Linked DNA regions of Homo sapiens: all the other regions are linked to region 4. Evidence: promoter capture Hi-C in 16 types of primary human blood cells and fetal thymus (Javierre and others, 2016). All regions are on one chromosome and are shown on one strand. Each heading gives the region's core, a stretch centred on a gene start or on the middle of the fragment in contact. The rest is flanking DNA. Distances are from core to core; before and after follow the strand shown.

Region 1 (3,198 bases), core at 592-3,091, 330 kb before region 4:
GCCTAGTTCTCCTTCTAACCATCAAAGCTGCCTTTCAGGAAAAGATTTACTAGAATTTTTTATGTGTCACTGCAAATTGGTTGCTGCTACCTATCTCAAGGGTATCTGCATTCCAAGCCATATCCTTATTATAGACTAAGAAGTTTTCTCCTGTGAAATAAATTCTTGACTTGAAGCTGGAGGTGAAGGTGATCTTTTGGGGACAGAGTGATCTGCCCTCTTGAAACTGCCCAGTATCCAGATTTTCAACGATGAAACCAGAATCACAAAGTTAAGAAAAAGCATGTTTGTATTCAAAGGTTCCAATAAGTTTATTTTGTGTGCATTTGTTTTCAATTTAATTAATTTCATCAACTTAATTTAAACAAATCTTTGAAATTAATAAAATGTGAGATGTCTGCAGGTGTTTGCAGCAAGCATTGTGGTGAGATTCTTCCCTGAAGTAAGGAGAGTCCTTAAAAACAAAGATGCCTAGAAACACACATATTATTATTATCTTTAAAAATATAACAAATGTGGGGGTTGCAGTGGACACTTCACTTTTTTTTAGCTTGTATCAAAACTGTTGGACAATGTAAATGAAGGATCAAGAACAAGAAGCCTGGGGGAATAAATGGGATGACGAGTGTAGAGATACTTGTGGAGAACTCTTTATTGCCACCAATTTAATTGTGATTACAGTGGCAGACATCAACATCCAATAGAAGTTTCAGTGATAGAGGAAATTATCTCAGTCTCAGTGTCCAATATGGCAGCCACCAGCCACATGTGGCTATTGAGCACTGAGAATCTGGCTATTGTGACTGAGGAAATGGATTTTTAATTACAATGAATTTAAACTTAGTTTAATACAGCCACACATGGCTAATGGTTAGTGTACTGGACTGGTGTAGGTCTAACACCATTAGTCTTTTCATATATAATTTTAGAAATACTTTATACCAGTGAAGTCTCTCCAAGAGAAACTAATAGAGCTCCCAGTATAATACAGCCTTCCAGCTGCAAAAAGCTTATTTACTAAAAACATAGTTTATGGCCCACTCCACCCCATACACTAATCAATTACCCATCATATGCAGAATTGGCGCCTCCCTTGTTTTTTCCAGAGGAAGCCTGCAGCACCAGCATTTGGGATGAAGAGACAGACTTACCCTCACCCAGAGGAAGTTCTTCTTCTTGCTCGCTGGGGGAAGGAAGCAGGGGCTGCAGGGGTTCCATGTTAATGATGAGCTGTTTGTTCAAGGAGTGGGAACTGCGGCTCTGAGTAATGTTGGCTCTGAAAACAGACACAAGCCAGACAGAGTTGGTTTCCATCACAAATGCTGGCCCCTCCATCTCAGCGGGCTGCCCAAGCTACCATTTTGTGTCTACAGGGAACTACCTCCAGACACAGTGAATTGAGCCAGTAGTAAAGATGACGTAACATTCAAGATAAATGGCCCTTTCTGCTCTTAAGGTCCTGACCAAATGTCCCTATGTTCTACTGCAACTCAACGAAAGAAAATACAGTTCCCAATACATCACCAGCCCTGAGCATGCTAGGTGACAGCCTGGGCGTTTTTTAAAAAAAAAGAAAGAAGAAACAAAAAGACATGGGAGGTAGCTAGCACTGAACTAGATATGTAGAAAAGTGAATGAAGGGCATGGCTCAGAGAAATTTAACAACCACCAACAAACAAAAACAAAAACCCCTGCCAGATAGATGATGCAGATGTTCTACAGCTATAAGCTATCTTTGTGTTGCTGGATGTCCAATGTTTAATATCAGTGTTTAATATTCTCAAAGTTACACCCTACTCACTAACTGGCCATGGCTCTGTTTTCTCCTCTGGAAAGGAGCATGCAGGTGTGTCTGGCTGAGACTAGCAACAGATGGCAAGGAAACTGTGCAGGTATCTCATTAAGCCTATTGGTTGGGAGCTGGGGAGCCCGCTTGCCCTACCTGCTGCAGAGATACTAGCTGCTTGCCCTAGTCTGCCTGCAGGTGGATGTTTGCACACCCTTCCTCACTCCCCATGCTTCCTGTCAAAACCAAAACCAGTGCATACTTTAAAAAGGAGTCAAATGTTTCCTTCCCCTGGAAGCCTTCCCAGATTGCTCCTCCCAATGCACACAGTCTCTCTCTCTCTCTCTCTCCCTTCCTCTCCCTCTCTTTGACTACTTTCTCTTCTTTCATAACTCACTGCATTTTCACCTCTGTCTCTGTCTAGTTATTGGTGTACTGATCATCCCCACCTAGATAAGCACCTTAAGGGCAGAGACTGAGCCAGCCATACTTGTGCATCTCACTTGGCATCTTGTGAAAATGTGTTCAGGTTTGAAACTAAAGTGCACCAAATGCAATCCTGGCTTGACATATGTTGCCATTTCAGCCTGGTCAGAGTGTTCCCTAGACCGGCTGCAGGACTACCTTCTAGCCTGAGTGTTTCTGTTGGGCAGCAGGAGTGGGGAACAGCAAGATGCCTGCTACCATCTTGAATTAAAAGCTCCCATGGCTGGCATGGGCTAGAAAGGAAATTTATGAGGACTTGCTTAGCCATGGAGTCCTTTTCTTCATTATTTCATTTTACAGCCATTTACTCTGCAGCTGATATATACAAATTGGACATTCTGCTTTGCTCCAGAGAACTGTAGTCCTCACCTTAAGTAACTCACTGTCTAGAACCATAATTTTTAAGCTTTCTGGTCTGAGACCTACATTAATAAATACTTTTTTTTTTTTTTTGAGACAGAGTCTCGCTCTGTCACCTAGGCTGGAGTGCAGTGGTGCAATCTCGGCTCACTGCAACCTCTGCCTCCTGGGTTCAAGCAATTCTCCTGCCTCAGCCTCGCGAGTAGCTGGGATTACAGGTGTGTGCCACCACACCCAGCTAAATTTTTGTATTTTTAGTAGAGACGGGGTTCACTGTGTTAACCAGGATGATGGTCTTCATCTTCTGACCTCATGATCTGCCCATCTCGGCCTCCCAAAATGCTGGGATTACAGGCTTGAGCCACTACGCCCAGCCCCAAGAAACACATTTTATATAATCTCCCTGTACCCAAACACACACAGGAAGAAGCACAACTGAAATTAATGTCTTATGGAACAATAGTTACATATCTATGTATAATCCACTATTTTAAAATTCTAGTTCATTTTAAGTCCCAGTCTTGATCACTACTTTATTTCATAACTACCCCCAACTTTGTATTTTT
Region 2 (3,046 bases), core at 446-2,945, 350 kb before region 4:
CGAGTTACTCCTCCCCAATAGTAGCAGTATTGCTGGTTGTGAGGAGTTAACCCGGCCATGCCTATTACCTTGGGAAACCTACAGAAGCCTGCTGAATGCAATTTTCTATCTGCAAAATGGTGAGGATACTGGGTGTTTACATGACTGGGTTCCTGACATGGAATAGGCATTTAATAAATACTAACTATAATTATATCATCATCAATATCATGCAATTTATCTACATTAGAAACCAACAGACTTGACAAGTATAGTGGAGTCAGCCATTAGTTAAAATAGTTTGAGAGATTCACTGAAATTTTAGCTAACTGCTAGCTCCAAGTGGAAAGATAATAAATTATTATTACATTCATTAAATGTTCTTTGTAATCAGGTTAGACATTAAGTATCCATTAAAAAGAGTCCTTGGGACTAACATATACTTCAGAGGACTTTTTAAAGATTGTATTAATAAAACATATAAACAATAATTTTAATAATATATTTATGATAGGAGGGGTATATTCTTGGGTATACAGTAAAAAGAAAGGGAAGCTGTTCCCAACATCACTGAGAGACTGAGAGAAAGGACCATATGGCCAGGTAATCAACCATTTGTATAACTTAATTTCCTTGTTTGGAAAGTGAGACAACAGTATCTGTTCTATCCAATTCAAAGAAATGGTCATGAGTGTCAAATTATGATAACTTACATGAACAAAACCCTGGAAATGCATAAGATGCTTTGGCATATTAGACACTGTTCCTCTTATGATTTCCCATATCAGACTGAATGTTTCCTGCCTGTAAGCTGAGATAACTGCTCTCTGGGGCCCAGCATCACCTTGTAGAGTCTGGGGAAAGGTCAATAAAAATCCTCTGGAGAATACAGTTGCAGACAAAGTATAGTTCAAGCAGCACAGCTGGGCATTCTTCAACACCACTGTTCTCAGTAGCTCTAAGACCTCCTTATCATGACTTACTTCCTTGTATTTTCCTGACTCTCCAACTTATTTATAAACGGAAAAGAGCACATCATTCAAAGCAGTCGGTTAACTTAGGTAAGGAAAGCCAACAAGCATGATTGTGACTCAAGATAGTTGCTCTTGTTAAGTCACTGCTCCTGCTCTCCCTCTCCCTCCCCCTCCCCCTCTCCCTCCATCTCTGTCTCCCTCTCTCTCCTCTGTCTCCCTCTCTCTCCACGGTCTCCCTCTGATGCCTAGCTGAAGCTGGACTGTACTGCCGCCATCTTGGCTCACTGCAACCTCCCTGCCTGATTCTCCTGCCTCAGCCTGCCCAGTGCCTGGGATTGCAGGCGGGCGCCGCCACGCCTGACTGGTTTTCGTTTTTTTTTTTGGTGGAGACGGGGTTTCGCTGTGTTGGCCGGGCTGGTCTCCAGCTCCTAACCCCAAGTGATCTGCCAGCCTTGGCCTCCCGAGGTGCCGGGATTGCAGACGGAGTCTCGTTCACTCAGTGCTCAATGTTGCCCAGGCTGGAGTGCAGTGGCGTGATCCCCGCTCGCTACAACCTCCACCTCCCAGCCGCCTGCCTTGGCCTCCCAAAGTGCCGAGATTGCAGCTTCTGCCCGGCCGCCACCCCCTCTGGGAAGTGAGGAGCATCTCTGCCTGGCCGCCCATCGTCTGGGATGTCAGGAGCCCCTCTGCCCGGCCGCCCAGTCTGGGAAGTGAGGAGCGCCTCTGCCCGGCTGCCCAGTCTGGTAAGTGAGGAGCGCCTCTGCCCGGCTGCCCAGTCTGGGAAGTGAGGAGCGCCTCTTCCCGGCCGCCATCCCATCTAGGAAGTGAGGAGCGTCTCTGCCCGGCCGCCCATCATCTGAGATGTGGGGAGTGCCTCTGCCCCGCCGCCCCGTCTGGGATGTGAGGAGCGCCTCTGCCCGGCCACGACCCCATCTGGGAGGTGAGGAGCGTCTCTGCCCGGCCACCCCGTCCGAGAAGTGAGGAGCCCCTCCGCCCGGCAGCCGCCCCGTCTGAGAAGTGAGGAGCCCCTCCGCCCGGCAGCCGCCCCGTCTGGGAAGTGAGGAGCATCTCCGCCCGGCAGCCGCCCCGTCCGGGAGGGAGGTGGGGGGCAGCCCCCACCCAGCCAGCTGCCCCGTCCGGGAGGTGGGGGGGGGCGCCTCTGCCCGGCCACCCCTTCTGGGAAGTGAGGAGCCCCTCTGCCCGGCTGCCACCCCATCTGGGAGGTGTACCCAACAGCTCATTGAGAACGGGCCATGATGACGATGGTGGTTTTGTCGAATAGAAAAGGGGGAAATGTGGGGAAAAGATAGAGAAATCAGATTGTTGCTGTGTCTGTGTAGAAAGAAGTAGACATGGGAGACTCCATTTTGTTCTGTACTAAGAAAATTTCTTCTGCCTTGGGATGCTGTTAATCTATAACCTTACCCCCAACCCCGTGCTCTCTGAAACATGTGCTGTGTCCACTCAGGGTTAAATGGATTAAGGGCGGTGCAAGATGTGCTTTGTTAAACAGATGCTTGAAGGCAGCATACTGGTTAAGAGTCATCAGCACTCCCTAATCTCAAGTACCCAGGGACACAAACACTGCGGAAGGCCGCAGGGTCCTCTGCCTAGGAAAACCAGAGACCCTTGTTCACTTGTTTATCTGCTGACCTTCCCTCCACTATTGTCCTATGACCCTGCCAAATCCGATCAATAAATACTAAAAAAAAAAAAAAAAAACCTGGGGAAAAAAAAAAAAGTTACTGCTCCTGTTACAAAGAATGCATACAGTTCCTCACCCCCTCCAAGAAATTGACTAAGATTTATGCACAAAGTGTCTAAAATTATCATATTCTGCTCCAATAGGATAACATTTAAATGCACTTTAAAATAAAATTAGAACAAAAATACAAAAAAGTCACTTGGTGTTTTCTTTTCTTTTTTTTGAGACAGGGTCTTGCTCTGTCACCCAGGCTGGAGTTCAGTGGCCCATCCATAGCTCACTGCAGCCTCGACCTCCTGGGCTTCAAAGTGATCCTCCTGCCTCAGCCTGCCAAGCAGCTAGGACTGTAAGTACACGCCATCAAATTTGGATAATTTTTTTACATTTT
Region 3 (3,441 bases), core at 372-2,871, 420 kb before region 4:
TGTTCACTGCTGTATCCCCAGGTTCTAAAGCAATGTCAGCTCATAGCAGGGCCTCAGTGAGCTTGCTACATGAATTAGTTAAGTCATAGCCTATGTTGTGGTTCCCTGAAGTGAGAAAAGAGCTGGGATTTACTCAGATTACCAAGGAAACAATGCTGCATTGAGGCTGCCAGTCTGGACATGACCTCCAGCTGACTTTGCTCCAAAGATGAGTCCAAGCACTCCAGAGCATCTCCCTTCTCTTAAAGGGTCATAGACCCATAGACCAGGATTTTGTACATAAAGACTTTCAATATCTGGAGTGAGTTTGATCAAAGGATCTAACAGAGAAATGCAGCTAATGTAGACTTGTGAAGGCAAGAGGGCTTTCCTCTTCCTAGAAAGGCCATCCACCCCACCCAATGATATAGGTTTGGGAGAATCCTGGAGAAGCTGTGGAAGAAGGACACCTGCCTAGCAAGTCAGACCAGGCTGCTGTACCCTGGCTGTTGATGGCAGAACAGAAGTCACAGCCAGACTGTCCATGTGTCCCTGTCTGGAACACAGTTCTCCTCCACACAGCCCACTGCATTCGGCCTTCAACCAAAAAGGTGCTGGAGAATGACAAGCAAAAGCCCATCCAGGGTTCTTAGCAGTGGGGAAAGCATATTCCTATCATCATGTTTTGCTGAAATAATTTTGAATTATGCCTTGGACGTAGAGGATGCCAGAGTTCGGATATTCTCTTGGAAGAGGCCTTGGTAATGGAGGAGACACTCCCAAATAGTAAGTGGATTCTGGAGGCAACTACTTAACCAATCTAGTGCTATTTCAGAATTTTTAAAAAATATAATTGTAAGAAATGTTTTTGGAGTGAAACATGTATTATCACGTGGACCAATATAGCAGTTGGACTCAATGTAAATATTAATGGGACTTTTTTCTATTTCTCTACTCCTCACTACAAATTAGTTACTTGCCTGGGATCTAATTTTACTTAATATGTAGGTAAGGAATAGTGCTTGGCATGATTTCATGCTTGGAATATGTAAGTAAGGAAAAATGCTCAGCAGGATTTCATGCTTGGTTTGTTGTCTCTTCAGTTCTATTCTCAAGTAGTTTAGCATTTTGTTTTAAATGTTTTAGCTCCTAAGGGCATGAATATATACAATAATATCTCCCTTCCCAGATTATCAGACTCCTAAGTCTGACTCCTTCAAGCACCGAGAAGCCAGATCAGGACACAGATGAAAATGCTAACATAACACTGCATCATGCAGATGATTTGAAAACATGGTGACTGAGAAGTGGCTCATCCCAGATGGCTATGGGGTCAAATACATCTCCAGTTATGGCCCTCTGGACAAGTGGCAGGCCCTGCACTCATGAGGGCTCCCCATGTGCTGCTCCCTCCTAATGCCCACCAATAAATCCTACTTCCTGTCCAAAAAAAAAAGAAAAACCACCCATCATAGCAACATGCACTTTGCTCCTTAAGTTCTCATTCAAAGCCTTATTAACTATTATTTAACACATAAGCTTAAGTATGTTTAATTAATTTCTATATCTATGCAGCTTAAAAGGAAAATTGGCTAAAAGACATGAGTCAAGCAGCTGCAATGACTCAGAGATGTAATAGACAATGATAACAAAAGAGAAAACAGAACTATAAATAATGAATATTCATAATGAAAAACAATTGTCAAGCTAATATTTAACTACAACTAACACACATTGTAATGATAGAAAGCTTTCCAATGCACTTTAAAATGAATTTAACAAGAAATGGCATTAAAAGAAAGCAGTATTTTTTTTTTGAGGTGGAGTCTCACTCCGTTGCCCAGGCTGGAGTGCAATGGCTTGATCTCAGCTCACTGCAGATTCAGCCTCTCAGATTCAAGCAATTCTCCTGCCTCAGCCTTCCCAGTAGCTAGGATTACAGGTGCCCGCCACTATGCTTGGCTTGTTTTTTTGTTTGTTTGTTTGTTTGTTTTAATTTTTAGTAGAGATGGGGTCTTGCCATGTTGGCCAGGCTGGTCTCAAACTCCTCACCTCAGGTGATCCTCCCACCTCGCAAAGTGCTGGGATTACAGGCTTGAGCCACCACACCCAGCCAAGAAATTAGATTTTAAGTGTTCTCACCACAGAAAAGATAAGTATGTGAGGCACTACATATGTTAAATAGCTTGATTTGGCCATTCTACTGGTATACATACATCAAAACGTCATGTTGTACACCATAATATATATAATTTTTACTTGTCAATTAACAATAAGTAAATGGACAGCAGTACTTAAAAGAAAAAGATGTACATATTTAGATTATTCTCTTATATGGACCCAACTGTTAATTGTTAAAGCTAGCAAAATGGAAGTTATTGTATATATGGAATCTATATATATAGATATTATATGCCCCATATATATAATCAATAGACGATCGACAGCAATCCATTAAAAATTAGTGTGGGTTCCTACAAAATTTACATTTATTTTTACATTTATTTATTAAATAAATATTGAGTACTTCTAGCTCTTAGTGAGTTAGACAGACTTGGTCTTGCCCTTGTAGACCCTCCTTATGTTCTATTTCAGTCCTTTTTTTTTTTCTTTTTTTGAGATGGACTCTCATTCTGTCACCCGGGCTGCAGTGCAGTGGCGCCATCTTGGCTCACTGCTACCTACGCCTCCCAGGTTCAAGCAATTCTCCTGCCTCAGCCTCCCAAACAGCTGGGATTACAGGCACTCACCACAATACCTGGCTAATTTTTGTATTTTTAGTAGAGACGGGGTTTCATCATGTTGGCCAGGCTGGTCTCAAACTCTTGATCTCAAGTGATTCATCAATTTCAGCCACCCAAAGTGCTGGGATTACAGGCATGAGCCACCACACCTGGCCTATTCCATTACATTTTAGGTAAGTTCGTTGAAAGTGAAAATAGGATGCCTTGAGAGAAAATAGGTAAGTAGACCAGGTCTGTTCTGAAGGTGGTACGGTGGGGGTCTCTCTTGGGGTCCTAAATTTCAGATCTGAAGAGTGAGTATCACTTAAGTAAGTGAGGAGCTGGCTATGGGTGGGCACTCCAGTCAGGAGGAACAGCAAATGCAAAGGCCCTGGGGTGAGAGGAAGTGCATGGTGCCAGCAGAACTAAGGGAGGTCCTATGGCTGGAGCAAGAGGATGAGAGGCAGGGGTGGAAACACTCAGAACGCAAAACACATGCTGATGTAGATAACCTTTATTCTATGGGCAGTGGCAATTCACTGCAGAGTGCCATTCAAAGATGTTTGAAAAACTCATTTTGATGGCAGTGTGGAGAACAGATCAAAGTGAGAGCCTGAGTGAGCATCTGATTGCTTAAGGGGGACAAGGCAGTGTCACAGTCCTCCAGGGAGAGCAGATGGTAAGAAGGTGAGGATGAAGATGAATAGCTGTATTCAAAAACATTTAGGAGGTAACAGTG
Region 4 (3,242 bases), core at 54-2,553:
AATGTGTATTGACCATAACTGAATTGTAAGACCTCTCTCCAAGCCTCAATTTCTTCACCTGTACAGCCCCCATCCAGATTGAAATCTCACCTACTCGGGCTAAGTATATGAAAAACAAAGGCAGTGCAGGGGTAATTGAACTATTCATTAGATAAATGCTTTTATGTCACTTTTATTGTTTTCTAGGACACAGAGTAATACCTACCTTGGTTAACAAAAGACCAAAGGAGGTGATGCCAAATGCGGTTAGAAGTGCTTTTAATCACTTTGGGAGGCCGAGGCGGGTGGATCATGAGGTCAGGAGATCGAGACCATCCTGGCTAACAAGGTGAAACCCCGTCTCTACTAAAAATACAAAAAAAATTAGCCGGGCGCGGTGGCGGGCGCCTGTAGTCCCAGCTACTCGGGAGGCTGAGGCAGGAGAATGGCGTGAACCCGGGAAGCGGAGCTTGCAGTGAGCCGAGATTGCGCCACTGCAGTCCGCAGTCCCACCTGGGCGACAGAGCGAGACTCCGTCTCAAAAAAAAAAAGAAGTGCTTTTAATCAAATAGTTCAAACGACACATAATTAACATTGTTTTAAAGCAAATGGACACTTTAAAGTGGTGCTCCTTCCTCTTAAAGCCCCAACCAGTGCTGGATTTAACAGCAGAGCCATACAGCCAAGACATATGCTGCTACGGTCAACACTCAACCCTAAGTTTGACACCAAAAGATGGCCGCCATTTATTATTGTGACAAAAGGCCAGATTACAAAACGCTGTGTACGGCCTGATCCCAGTTTTACAAAATACTCATACCCATCTATCTACGACGGGGCGCGGGGAAAGGGGAGTCGTTTTAGGAAGTGCTGCTTATTGCTGCCTGGTGTGGGAAATTATGAGTCTTATTTTCTGTTTATTCTTTTTACAAGAACATTTTTATAAATGAATGAATGAATGCTTTCCATGGGTGGATGAGGATCCGGCCTGCCAGGGTGAGGATCCTCTGGAACCAAGAGGGGCCGGGGCAGTAGAACGACAGGTGGCGGGGCTTTGGGCGGCTCCCTCCAGCCCAGGGAGACGCGAGTGCCAGGCCGGGCGCGCGCTTCACTTCCGGGAAGAGGAAAGAGGGAGGGGAGGGGAGAGGAAAAGAAGGGGCAGGAGAGAGAGGCCGGGAGGTTGGGAAAGGGAGGAGGAAAGCATGGAAAAGGGGCGCGGGAAAACGGGGAGGGCGCAGAGGGGCACGGCCCTCACTGCCCCGGCCGGGGCGAGAGCGGCTCCGCCCCTCGAGCGCCGGGTAGGCCGGGGCCGGCGGGGCCCGGAAGGCGACGGGAAGGAGCCGAGCTTGGGTTATGGCGGCGCCGGGCGCGCTGCTGGTGATGGGCGTGAGCGGCTCGGGGAAGTAGGTCCGGGAGAGGGCGGGGGGCGCCCGGGACAAGTGTTGCGGGCGCGGCGGAGGCCGGACGCGTCGCCGTCCCTGCCGGTGGACTGGGGTCTTGGGGACCCCCCACCCTTCCCTTTGCAGATGAAGAAACCGAGGCCCGCGGCTGCCGCGCCCTCTCCCCGCCCTCCAGCCTGCTCGCGGGGCGCCCATCCTGGGACCGCATCCGAGCTCCGGGTTCCCGCTCTAAGACGGGGAGGCTGCGGCGACCGCAGGCTCAGGGAGGAAGCCGCTCCTGAACAGGCGGCTGCGGGGCCGCGCAGGTGGAGGCCTAGCGAGCGGCGCGGGGCTAGGTTTCGGGGCGCCTTGTCGGGGCCAGGCGGGAGGGCGCACGGCCTCTAGCGAGAGGACGCAAACCACGGCCCAGGCTCTCACAGACCTTTGGCCATCTGGACACACAGCGGCCTCCTCCTATGAGGCCCTGGACTTCTCCGATTCAATTTTGGAAAGTGAATCGTTTTCCCCTTCCTTTCATCAGCTTAACCTGGAAGGAGACAGCGTTAATATGGAGGGTGGCTCCTGAGGGTTTGGAAAGAAAGAAGAGAATTGTGGAAACCACAGAGGTAGCCCAGTGTGCTAACCTGGAGACTGAGGAGTTAACATTTGGCTTCCTGTTTAAACCAAAGTCTAACTGTGCCCTTTATCAGAAAAGACAGCTGCTGTACCATTCGACCACAGGCAGCAAAGGACAGAACTTGATCAGCTAAAACATCATAACCTTCAAGGGCCTATAGGACCCTTCTAGAATTTTCTGAATCAGGAACGGCCCATGTTGTGGCCTGTGTAGTCAGGTGTATATTAAAGATTTACTCCAGGTAGATGGGTTTTGCTTTCCAAAATTATTGTAGGGTTCTCAGCCACAAAGATAAAAAGAAATCTTGAACTGCAATTGAAATAAAACATGGAGCCCCCAAATCCCTAGCTGCCATATGATTTGAATCAGTTGGAGAATGTAAAATCATTGCCATGGTGTGATGTAACAGGAGTGAAGAGCCCTAGGTCTTGGTTCTGTTGCTGTCTGGCTGTGTGAGCCTGGGCAGTTCATGTACCCCCTCTGAGTCTTGAATCAGATGAGGGAGGCCTAATCCCTATGATGTATAGCTTGTGATATTCATGTACTCAGTAATTATTGAGCTCAATCCTTACTCTATGTCATTGTCATATAGCGAACAGGACAGATAAAATCCCTGCCCTCAAAGGATTTACATTCTGGTATGGGAGACAGAGTAAATGAATATATGTAGTGTGTGAGTTGGTGATAGATGCTCTGGAGTAAGGGGAACAAAGAGTGCCAGGCAGAGTGGTCAGGGATGTCTCCTCTGGGGGAGTGGCGTTTCAGCAAAGACCTGCAAGACTTGAGGAACCTGCCATGTGGATAGCTGAGGAAAGGGCAGGACAGGCAGAGGGAATGGCAGGTGCAATGGTTCTGAGGCTTAGCTTCTTTTGTTTTTTTTTTGTTTTGTTTTGTTTGAGGCGGAGCTTCACTCCTGTTGCCCAGGCTGGAGTGCAGTGGTGCAATCTTGGCTCAATGCAACCTCCTCCTCCCGGGTTCAAGCAATTCTCCTGCCTCAGGCTCCTAAGTAGCTGGGATTATAGGCGCCCACCACCATGCACAGCTAATTTTTTGTATTTTTAGTAGAGACGGGGTTTCATCATGTTGGCGAGGCTGGTCTCAAACTCCTGACCTCAGGTGATCCATGCGTCTCAGCCTCCCAAAGTGCAGGGATTACAGGCGTGAGCCACCGCGCCCAGCTAAGGCTTGGCTTCTTTAAGGAGCAGGAAGGAACCCATTGTGGCTGAGTGAGGGGAAGCATGATGGGA
Region 5 (3,343 bases), core at 127-2,626, 390 kb before region 4:
GGTAACCAAGGCTATTGTGCCAAGGGTTCTGAGAATCAACTTCCACATCGAACATTTATCAAAAGGTAAATAGCACAGGACAGAGGACCAGAAAAAAGAAAGTCACGCAGAGAAAGAAATCAGGAGACCTTGCATTTGTAACTTGACTATACATTTGCAATATACTCCCTACTTTGAACAACTTAGAAAAAAACATTTCTTTCTTACAAACACAGTTTCCTCCTGAAAGGAATTTTGATGTATTCTATTTTCTGATGTCTTACTATTTTGGATGTGTATCCACGTTATAGGCAACGAGATGTTTTGTTTATAAATAAATGTAGAAGAAAAATAGATGTTTTTTAGAAGCAAATTCTGGTTCTTGTTATATCTTCTGAAACTTCCAAATCCAATTTTGTTATGCATTGCCACCATGATGCTATTACTTCAGTAGAACAGGATGTCCTCAAAGAGTGAAATGGTTACGATGAGTCTAGAATGACCTGGAGGTGCCAGATTATGGGCCTTAACTCCTAGCATTTCTCAAGTAGTTACTACATGTCCAAGACTTTGCTAAGGGATTTGCAAATTCTAACTTATTTTTAAATTCCATAACAGCTCTGAGATAAGTGCTGTAGTTAAACATAATTTTAAAGATGAGGATGCCAAGAATTCAAGAGATCAAATGAGTTACCTAAAGTTACACCTAAGAAGAGCAGGAAAGCTGAGACCAGAGCTGAGGCCATCTGGCTGGAGAGCCTGAGCTCTTAGCCATCATATTACACCGACTTTCTGTTCCAGATATGCCAGCTACTTCTATCTTTATATCAGTATCTCCTAGGCAGCAATTTTATACTCTGGCCTTTTGTCATTTTTACAGAAGCACTAATAATGATGCACAAAATTATTTTGTGTAAAAAAATTAAAATTTTTGTTTTTAATAGTTTTTGTAGAATCTATTAAAATATTAATATTCATAGTTCATAAGAAAATATTAATAGTTATTTCATAATAGCTTAAGTAACTATTGAACAAAAGTTAAAAATTTATTAGAAGTAAATATCAATGGTATAAATCAAATTATTTAATCTTTATGCACAAATATTACTTATCGCTAAAATGAAACTGGGTTCAGCATTATCTATTTTTCATTTTGATAGAATTAAGTACTGACAAAACTTGCTGACAAATAGAAATGGAAAGGTTCTTGGTTATAATAAAGCTACTCAACTCGTACTCCTCACAAAATATGTTAAAAAATAACATAGTGAACCACAACAAATATAATTTTTGCTAACAGCTTTGTTGAGCTATAATTAACATACCATAAATAATGCATAAAATTCATTGGTCTTTGTTCACAGAGTCATGCGACCATCGCAACTACATAATTCAAAGAAAAATTTTATCACCCAAAAAAGAAACTCTGTACCTATTAGCAGTCATTCTTCATTCTCCCTACCCGTGGAAATCACTAATCTACTTTCTGTCTCTATAGATTTGCCTATTCTGGACATTTTATATAAATCAAATCATGCAATAGATGGCCTTTTGCTTTTGGCTTCTTTTACTTAGCATAATGTTTTCAAAGTTCATCCATGGTGTAGCGTGTACCAATACTTCATTCATTTTTATGGAATGGATACACTACATTTGTTTATGCAATTTACGAACCGATGGACATACGGGTTGTTTCCACTTCTGTGCTATTATGCAAAGTGCTGCTATGAAAATTACCCATTTTTTTGTGTAAATATATGTTTTCTGTTCTCTTGAGTATATACCTAAGAGTGGAATTGCTGGCTTGTATGGTAACCTTATGCTTAACTTTTTGAAGAACTACGAAACTGTTTTCCAAAGTAGCTGCACAATTTTTTTTTTTTTTAGACGGAGTCCCGCTCTTTCGCCCAGGTTGGAGTGCAGTGGCGCGATCTCGGCTCACTGCAAGCTCTGCCTCCCGGGTTCACGCCATTCTCCTGCCTCAGCCTCCGGAGTAGCTGGGACTACAGGCGCCCGCCACAGCGCCCGGCTAATTTTTTGTATTTTTAGTAGAGACGGGGTTTCACCGTGTTAGCCAGGATGATCTCGATCTCCTGACCTCGTGATCTGCCCGCCTCGGCCTCCCAAAGTGCTGGAATTACAGGTGTGAGCCACCGCGCCCAGCCTAGTAGCTGCACAATTTTACATTTTTACCAGGAATATATGAGGGTTTCAATTTATCCACATCCTCAGCAACACTTCGTGGCCTGTCTTTTTATTATAGCCATTCTTGTGGGTGTAAAGTAGAATCTCAATGTGGCACTGATTTGCATTTCTTTAATGACTAATGATATTGGACATCTTTTCGTGTGCTTACTATCCATTTGCATATTTCCTTTACCAAAATGTCTATTGTGATAACATTTCCTACTTTAAAAATTGGTTATGTTTTTTATTACTGAGTTGTAAGTATTCTTTATGTATTATGGGTACAAATTCATTATCGGATGTATGATTTAAAAATATTTTCATCCCTTCAGTGTTTTGTCTTTTCACTTTTCTTGACAGTGTCTTTTAAAGCACAAAAGTTTTTAAATTTATCTATTACTATCTAATTTACCTATTTTTTATTTTGTCTCTAGTGCTTTTGCTGTCCTTAGAAACCATCCTCTCTAATCAAAGGTTACAAAGATCTGATCTTATGTTTCTTCTAAAAGTTTTGTAAATTTTATTAAACACAAGGTCTCTGATTTATTTTGTGCTAATTTGTGTATACAGTGTGAGAAATTGGTCCAATTTTATGATTTTGCTGTTAGATATCAGTTGTTGAAAAGACTATTCTTTCCCCTTAGAATTGTCTTGTCATCTTGTTCACAATCAATTTTTCACAAATGCATAGTTTTGTTTCTGGACTCTCAGTTCTATTTTACGGATGTATATGTCTATCCTGATGTTGGTACCACACTGTCATGATTACTGCAGCTTTGCATTAGGTTCTGAAATTGGGAAGTGCGAGTCCTTCAACTTTGTTCTTTTTCAATATTATTTTGGTTAGTCTGTACCTTTTACATTTCCATATAAAATTTTAGGACCAATTTGTCAATTTCCACAAAACAGGAAGCTGACATCTGCTAGGGATTGCCTTGAATCTGAAAATCAATTTCAGGAGTATTGCTATCTTAACAATATTAAGTTTTCCATCCACGAACATGTGATGTCTTTTCATTTGTTTAGGTCTTCTTTTTTTCAGTGAAGTTTTGTTGATCACAATGTACAAGTCTTGTTACAGTCAGTAGCTAGTCAGACATGAACAGGGCAGGAAACACCAGGAATGTCAGGCGAACATCAGGTGATGGTCAGGCGGTTCTTAACTGTCTTTCTAAAA
Region 6 (3,159 bases), core at 117-2,616, 390 kb after region 4:
AATTTATGTATTTAATATATTTTTTGGAGATGGGATTTCACTCTGTTGCCCAGGCTGGAGTGCAGTGATACAATCATAACTCATAATCATAACTCACTGCGGCCTCCAATTCCTGGGCTCAAGCAATCCTCCCACCTCAGCTTCCTGAGTAGCTGGGACTACAGGCACACACCACCACACCTGGCTAATTTATTTTTACTTTTTGTAGAGATGGGGTCTCCCTGTGCCAAGCTGGTCGTAAAGCAATCCTCTCACCTTGGCCTCCCAAAGTATTGGGATTACAGACATGAGCCAAAGAGAAGGCCGGGTACAGTGGCTCAAATGGGTAATCCCAGCACTTTGAGATGCCAAGGCAGGAGAATTGCTTGAAGCCAGGAGTTGGAGAGCAGCCTGGGCAACATAGTGAGACCCCATTTCTACAAAAGTTTTAAAAAACTATGAACAAGGCAAGAGTTGTTTTGTATTGCTATCAGTTATCTACAATTAATAGAGTTGTAAAATAACTCACATAAGTGTCCTTTTTGTTCACAAGGAGCCTCTCTTGAATACATCTGAGTTTATGCTAATGAAGCGACTTAGGGTGGGGCCCCAAAAAGGCCTCAGGATCAAGTTGGTTACCAGAAAGTCCAAGTAATTAGAAGGTGGAAACTTTCTGCCCCACCCACTCACCTCTGTATACAAACTTGAATAATTAGATTTGATGAGCCTCCAGGTGAATACATCAAAGTGCTGGGAGGGTAGCACAGCTGGAGAGGGCATGGAAGCTCTGACCCCTCCTTCACTGAATTGTTTGCTTTATAATAAACTTGTAAATTTAAGTATTGTTTTTCTGAGTTTTATGAGATGTTCTAATAAATTATTGAACCCAAGGAGTGGCTTGTGGGATCCCCTGATTTATACCCAGTTGGTCATAAGTACAGGTGGCCTGGACTTGGATGTGGGGAGCAGTCTTGTGAGACTGAGCTCTTAACCTGTGGGGTCTGCTTTAACTCCAGGTAGTTAGTATTGAATTGAATTGAATTCAGTATTGAGTTGAATTATTGGACACCCAGTTTGTGTCCAGAGAATCAGAGAATTCGTTGTTGGTGTTGGAAAAACACTCTAGAATTGGTGCTAGAAATGGGATGTGAGTAGAGAAATGGCGTTCTTTGTTTTCTGTTTACTGTTTTTTACCAAAGTAGGATTTGAAGCTTTTGTGCCATGCATGGATCCAAGAATTTTTGCCAAGGTTGTGAGCTCCTTGCTGAGTGTTAGACACTGTGCTAAATGCTTTACAAAGAATGTTTCTTTAGAAAGTTAAAATCCTTTTATCAAAGCAATACATAAACATAATCGCAAAATTACATAGTATAGAAAGACCATGATAAAAAGTAGCAATCCTCTTTTTCACTGTTTCCCACGTCCCACTCCTATTCTGCTCCCCAGGGAGACCGATGTTGCCTATTAAGGTCTGTTTTTAGTGTATCTATTGATTGTCCTCATTCTTTAAATAATACGGGAATTTCCATTATTTAGACTTCTACCTGTCAAGTTAGCTCTGATAAAGCTTTAACTCACTTGATTCCTGCATCTCTTTTTTCCATCCATTACAAAACTCTTTTTGGTTTTCTTTATTGGCTATTATTAAAACATGAAATGATGGGCCGGGTGCAGTGGCTCGTGCCTGTAATCCCAACACTTTGGGAGGCCGTGGCAGGCGGACTACCTGGGGTCAGGAGTTTGAGAGCAGCCTGGCCAACATGGTGAAACCCCGTCTCTACTAAAAATACAAAATTAGCCGGGTGTGGTGGCACACGCCTGTAATCCCAGCTACTTGGGAGGCTGAGACAGAATTGCTTGAGCCCAGGAAACAGGTTGCAGTGAGCCGAGATCGTGCCACTGCACTCTAGCCTGGCCGACAGAGCGAGACTCTGTCTCAAAAACAAACAAACAAATAAACAAACAAAACCATGAAATGGTGAACTTACACTTTGATTTCTTATTACAACTATAGGCCATTTCTCCTGACTACTCATATTACAAAATAGTCTAATTAGTACTCCTAACTTTTCTTTATGCTTAATGTCTCCTCATACTTCAACATTATCAGACTGAATAAGTTTGCATTCTATTAATTAATCTGATTTATGACATCTGTTTCCTCTATAAGCTTATTCTAAAGGTTAAACGTCAAGCAGTGATCACATTATTACAACTATTTAAATATTGGTGATTGCACAGGTTGTTATGTGTAGTATATTGGCATTACCAGTCTTTTTGTAGAGATTTTTTTGGGTGATGGGGGGTGTTATTTGCTGTCCATTTTGGGGGTATTCACACCTTTTTCTCATCCTTAAGTTCTTCCAACTTCTTAAGGACAATATCAAATCTCTTGCATCTCTTACTTTTCTAGATACCTCCTGTAAAAAAAAAGCCTTTTTAGATTTGCAGAAAATTTGAGATGATAGTAGAGAGTTCTTATATACTCTACTCCCAGTTTGCTCTATTATTAACATCTTGCATTAGTATGGTACATTTGTTACAACTGATGATCCAATATTGTTACATTATTAACCAAAGTCTATATTGTATGTAGGTTTTACCTAATGTGTTTCTCTTCCAGGATCCCATCCAGGATACTATATTACCTTTAGTTGTCATGTCTCCTTACTCTCCTCTTGGTTGTGACAGTTTCTCAGACTCTCCTTGTTTTTGATGACCTTGACAGCTTTGAGGCGTATTGGTCAAGTACTTTGTAGGATGCCCCTCTATTGGAATTTGTGTGATGTTTTTCTCATTATGATACTGGCTAATTGGTTTCTGGGAGGAAGACCACACAGGTAAAGTGTCATTTTTACTATATCATATCAAGGGTACATACTATCAACATATTTAATCACTGTTCATGTTGACCTTGATCACCTGGATGAGATAGTGTTTGTCGTTTTTCTACAGTAAAGTTATTCTTCCACTCTCCCCCAGCCTTTCCACACTGAATGCTTTGGAAGGAAGTAACTGTGTGTAATCTATACTTAAGGAGTGAAGGTTTGTGTTCCATTTATGTTCCTCCTTCCTTGAGGACAGAGTATCTACATAAATTATTTGAAATTGTTCTGAAACAGAGATTTGTTTCTTTTCCCTCATAAATTAATTTATTCAATGATTTATATGAATATAGAC
Region 7 (3,223 bases), core at 362-2,861, 400 kb before region 4:
TTTATCAGCAATGTGAGAACAGACTAATACATTCGGTTTCCTCATTCATAAAAATAGAGTTGGGGGGTGGGGAAGTGGGTCTTAAACTTTTCCTATCTCACGGTACAGGAATAAAGGGGGATAAAATATCTTAGGTGTCTGGTCCAGAAAAGGTAATTATAAATGTTACTTATGTTTCCTTCTCCTCCTAATTTATCCAATAAATGCAAAAACTCTGAGGCACTCACTGTCTTTTGCTCTTTATCCATTCATCAAACTTTCCTTGGAGCCTAATTGCATGCCAGATACATAACTTCATAAAACACATGTGGTTGTCTCTGGTCCTGTGGAACTACAGTGACAGGGGAGGGGGCAGAAATGAAACAGCTTACTGATAAATGAGTGAATGAATTTGGCTAGATTAATAGGAGTGGGTGAAAGGTAGCATGAATAAACACTCCATTAGGGAAAAAGAAAATTAAGCTAAATTCAAAGTACCAAGTGTGCACGTGGAAGCCAGATCCTGGGAGTTTCTGAAATTCTCTGCGCCTCCCTTTCCTCTTCTACAAAATGGAGATAGTAATAGATGGTAACTCTTTTGGGTTACTGTGAAAAGTAAAACAACACTCCCCTCCCTCATCCTCACTAACCCAGCATATCAACCAGTTTTCTGAGATGTCTAGATTTCCATTTGGCCTCCAGCCAGCTTGAACAGCCAAACTGCCCCCAAGAAAGCACCCTGAATGTGAGGTCATCCAGGGTCCTAGGACTCCATCATACCCACTCCAAAACTAAAAGCCCACAGACCGTGGGGGTAGGACCTGACTAGCTGAAACATGCTGACCAAGCTACCTGAAGCACCTCTGAGGTATGCCCAGGCCTCAGGGTTGTCAAGCAGAAAAACCAGCACCTCCAGCCAGGTGTGTCTCTCTCATAAAGAAAGCTGAAACAGTTTTCCCTGCTTCTGAGTGGCAAGCTCGCCCCCAGATGTTTCTGAGAGCACCGCCCTTGCATTCCCACCAGGCCACCTGAGAACCTGGCCTCCCACATCTGGATTCGGCTGAAGCAGCAGTGTTTGAGAGAAAGGTGAGACTGGACAGTCAAGAAAGGGACAGAAAGTCGACGGTCTGGGAACTATCCCAGCGTGGACATTTACAGAAGCCACATACCTGTGTGTCCTCACTCCTCACAGGAGGACCGTGCAAAGGCAAATTGCTAGGCAGGTAGACCTCACAGATTCTCTCAGCCGGGCAGTCGGTGAGTCTGTCCAAAGCATTTGAATCTGAAGATAAAATGTTAAGAAGAAAATCCTAGAAAAACATGTCACATATATTCTACCCACCGAACCAAACAAAAACAAAAAAGAAACACTTAATTTTTAATAATGGGCGCAAGAAGTACTCAAAGTAATAAATAATAATAATAATAAAAGTTACTTCTTAGCCTGACTGTCCTGGACGAGAATTCCGTCCCCACTTGCAGGTCGGGCACTGAGTGCCTGGACAGAGAGTTAGGTCCCCCGCTTACCCCGCCCTAAGGCTGCGGAAGGCGGCGCCATCGGTCGCCATGGAAATCGCGGCGGATGGGCGGATCCTGGGCAGGTTGGCTGGGTCGGGCTGCCCGGGCGACGCCGGAGTTGCAGTTGGAGGCTGCGGGAATACAAAGGTAAGAGAGCAACTCCTGGGTTCCCTTGACTCGCAAGGGCTTGACCCCTGCCCGGGTTCTGGGAAAGTGAAGCAGAAAGTCGCCTCCCAGCGCAGAATATTCAAATTTGCCAGATGATCAGAATTACGCTGATTTAAAACCCAAACCCTCCCTAGTTTCCCACTCCTGCCCTGCTAAATCAAAATCTCCCAGCCAGGATCCGGAATCTGGATTTAACCAGGGGCCGTTTATAGAGTTGGGAGATTGGTAGATACGAGGTTCGCCTATTCTTATTTCTCAACGCCATACCACTACCCCGTAATGGTAAAAGAATTTGCACCCCAAAATCCTCCCCAGCGGCTCTGAAATGGAGTGCTTGGAGCTGGAAATGCGGAGCCCATTCCTCTCCTTGCAATACTGAAAGTTGTGAGCTGATTGGAAGCGTCGCTGCTTCTTGTGGGTTTCCCACTGGGGGGCAGCCTCGTCCTTCGCTCCTATTCCTTCCGCAAAGCAGAGCCGACAGTGTGGTTTCTGGCTAATTCCGGCTGCAGCCTGGTTAATAATATAAGCAGCACTTCTAGGAAGCGGAGCTTGGATGCAGAGCAGAGCCTAGGGCTGTAAATGGAAGAAGCTCTCAGCCCCAATTCCTAGTTTACAGTTAGGGTTCAGAACAAAGAATCCACGCTTGTAAAGCAATAATGTTCCCCTTGAGGGGAACATTACACTGCCCTTCAGTTCACGTGTATTATTTCTCAGCCCCCCCGAGCTTTATCTTTCATTGGGCAATCAGGTGGGACTTCAGGATTGATGGAGCCAAGCGTTAGCCTTGGCTGCACACTGAGTAACTATGAGCCTCACCTGACCACCTTCAGGAGGCAGCGTGGTGGTGAGAGAGGACTCGCTTCTGCGCTAATGGGGATCGCCATAGCTTCAATGACTATAAAATCAGGACCTGTCGTATCTGCATAGCCTGTCTTAGAGGTTTACGGGACGCTCAGCTCAATAGAGTGGGATAATCTATGGGTCTCTAGTACCTCATGCATTTACTGTACCTTATTTTGATAACCTGTTTATAGGTCTGACTTCTGTTATTTCATGTATAGGCATTGTCAGCTTAAAATCATGAGATCTTAAATTTGGAGAGGAGACTTTATTTCTTATAACGAGTTGCAGCTTGCAGGGTGGCCATCATGACAGGTAGAAGCTAGCCTCTGGCAGAGACCAATAGCAGGCACTTCAGAGGATAAAAGGGAGAGGTTGAGATTTATGCCCAAGGAAATTAGCTATACATACATATTCAGTAGGTTATAGGAGAATCTTATGAATATTTATGAGTCAATACATATGCACAGAATGAACATGTATGTAACATACAACACATGTTCACTTTGGGGTGGAGACAACATTAAGATACAGTCAAATTTAGGCCACACACATTAAAAGGTGAAGCAGGGACATGAAAGTAATCAACGCTCAGCCTCTATGAATCAGCCAGAACCGGTCTGTGGTCTCTTAGAAGAAAGTTACTGAAATCAGTCTCTTGTCCAGTCAGAGCTGTAGTTATGCCTTGTGGAGCACGAGGTCAGTTAGTCAGTGTTTG

What was found. Contacts are between HindIII fragments. The CHiCAGO score rates a contact against its expected background, and 5 or more counts as called.
Region 1: a fragment that was not itself captured here is called in contact with the fragment with the promoter of IDNK in region 4 in 1 of 17 cell types (neutrophils); the score reaches 6.2 in neutrophils.
Region 2: a fragment that was not itself captured here is called in contact with the fragment with the promoter of IDNK in region 4 in 1 of 17 cell types (megakaryocytes); the score reaches 6.3 in megakaryocytes.
Region 3: a fragment that was not itself captured here is called in contact with the fragment with the promoter of IDNK in region 4 in 5 of 17 cell types (megakaryocytes, M0 macrophages, M1 macrophages and 2 more); the score reaches 9.5 in megakaryocytes.
Region 5: a contact is called between a fragment that was not itself captured here and the fragment with the promoter of IDNK in region 4, in 2 of 17 cell types (M2 macrophages and M0 macrophages). The highest score is 6.7, in M2 macrophages.
Region 6: a contact is called between a fragment that was not itself captured here and the fragment with the promoter of IDNK in region 4, in 1 of 17 cell types (total CD8 T cells). The highest score is 6.1, in total CD8 T cells.
Region 7: the fragment with the promoter of FRMD3-AS1 here is called in contact with the fragment with the promoter of IDNK in region 4 in 1 of 17 cell types (monocytes); the score reaches 5.7 in monocytes.

Annotation. Positions count from the first base shown.
Region 1 is chr9:83,289,452-83,292,649 of GRCh38, forward strand. It overlaps FRMD3 (FERM domain containing 3), which reads right to left. Exons shown (of 14, transcript NM_174938.6): 13 at 1,152-1,276. It overlaps LOC124902190 (a long non-coding RNA gene), which reads left to right. Exons shown (of 3, transcript XR_007061614.1): 3 at 1-416. Among named protein-coding and RNA genes, the nearest start is that of FRMD3-AS1, 72 kb to the left of the region's middle. The HindIII fragment of the contact is 1,669 bases long and covers 1,008-2,676 here.
Region 2 is chr9:83,270,953-83,273,998 of GRCh38, forward strand. The region is part of intron 13 of FRMD3 (FERM domain containing 3); the gene reads right to left. LOC124902190 (a long non-coding RNA gene) reads left to right here and starts at 2,889. Exons shown (of 3, transcript XR_007061614.1): 1 at 2,889-3,004. The HindIII fragment of the contact is 3,911 bases long and covers 1-3,046 here.
Region 3 is chr9:83,200,698-83,204,138 of GRCh38, forward strand. It overlaps a transcript of RASEF not described here and the pseudogene RN7SKP242. Among named protein-coding and RNA genes, the nearest start is that of FRMD3-AS1, 17 kb to the right of the region's middle. The HindIII fragment of the contact is 211 bases long and covers 1,517-1,727 here.
Region 4 is chr9:83,621,840-83,625,081 of GRCh38, forward strand. It overlaps IDNK (IDNK gluconokinase), which reads left to right and starts at 1,304. Exons shown (of 5, transcript NM_001001551.4): 1 at 1,304-1,382. The coding sequence starts at 1,333. RefSeq lists a silencer at 999-1,528 and enhancers at 1,709-1,838, 1,859-1,908. The HindIII fragment of the contact is 10,566 bases long and covers 1-3,242 here.
Region 5 is chr9:83,235,757-83,239,099 of GRCh38, forward strand. All of the region lies in intron 2 of FRMD3-AS1 (FRMD3 antisense RNA 1), which reads left to right. Among named protein-coding and RNA genes, the nearest start is that of FRMD3-AS1, 18 kb to the left of the region's middle. The HindIII fragment of the contact is 4,774 bases long and covers 1-3,343 here.
Region 6 is chr9:84,013,722-84,016,880 of GRCh38, forward strand. No RefSeq gene overlaps it. Among named protein-coding and RNA genes, the nearest start is that of RMI1, 34 kb to the left of the region's middle. The HindIII fragment of the contact is 356 bases long and covers 1,189-1,544 here.
Region 7 is chr9:83,217,734-83,220,956 of GRCh38, forward strand. It overlaps FRMD3-AS1 (FRMD3 antisense RNA 1), which reads left to right and starts at 1,612. Exons shown (of 3, transcript NR_184120.1): 1 at 1,612-1,644. It also overlaps a transcript of RASEF not described here. The HindIII fragment of the contact is 11,674 bases long and covers 1-3,223 here.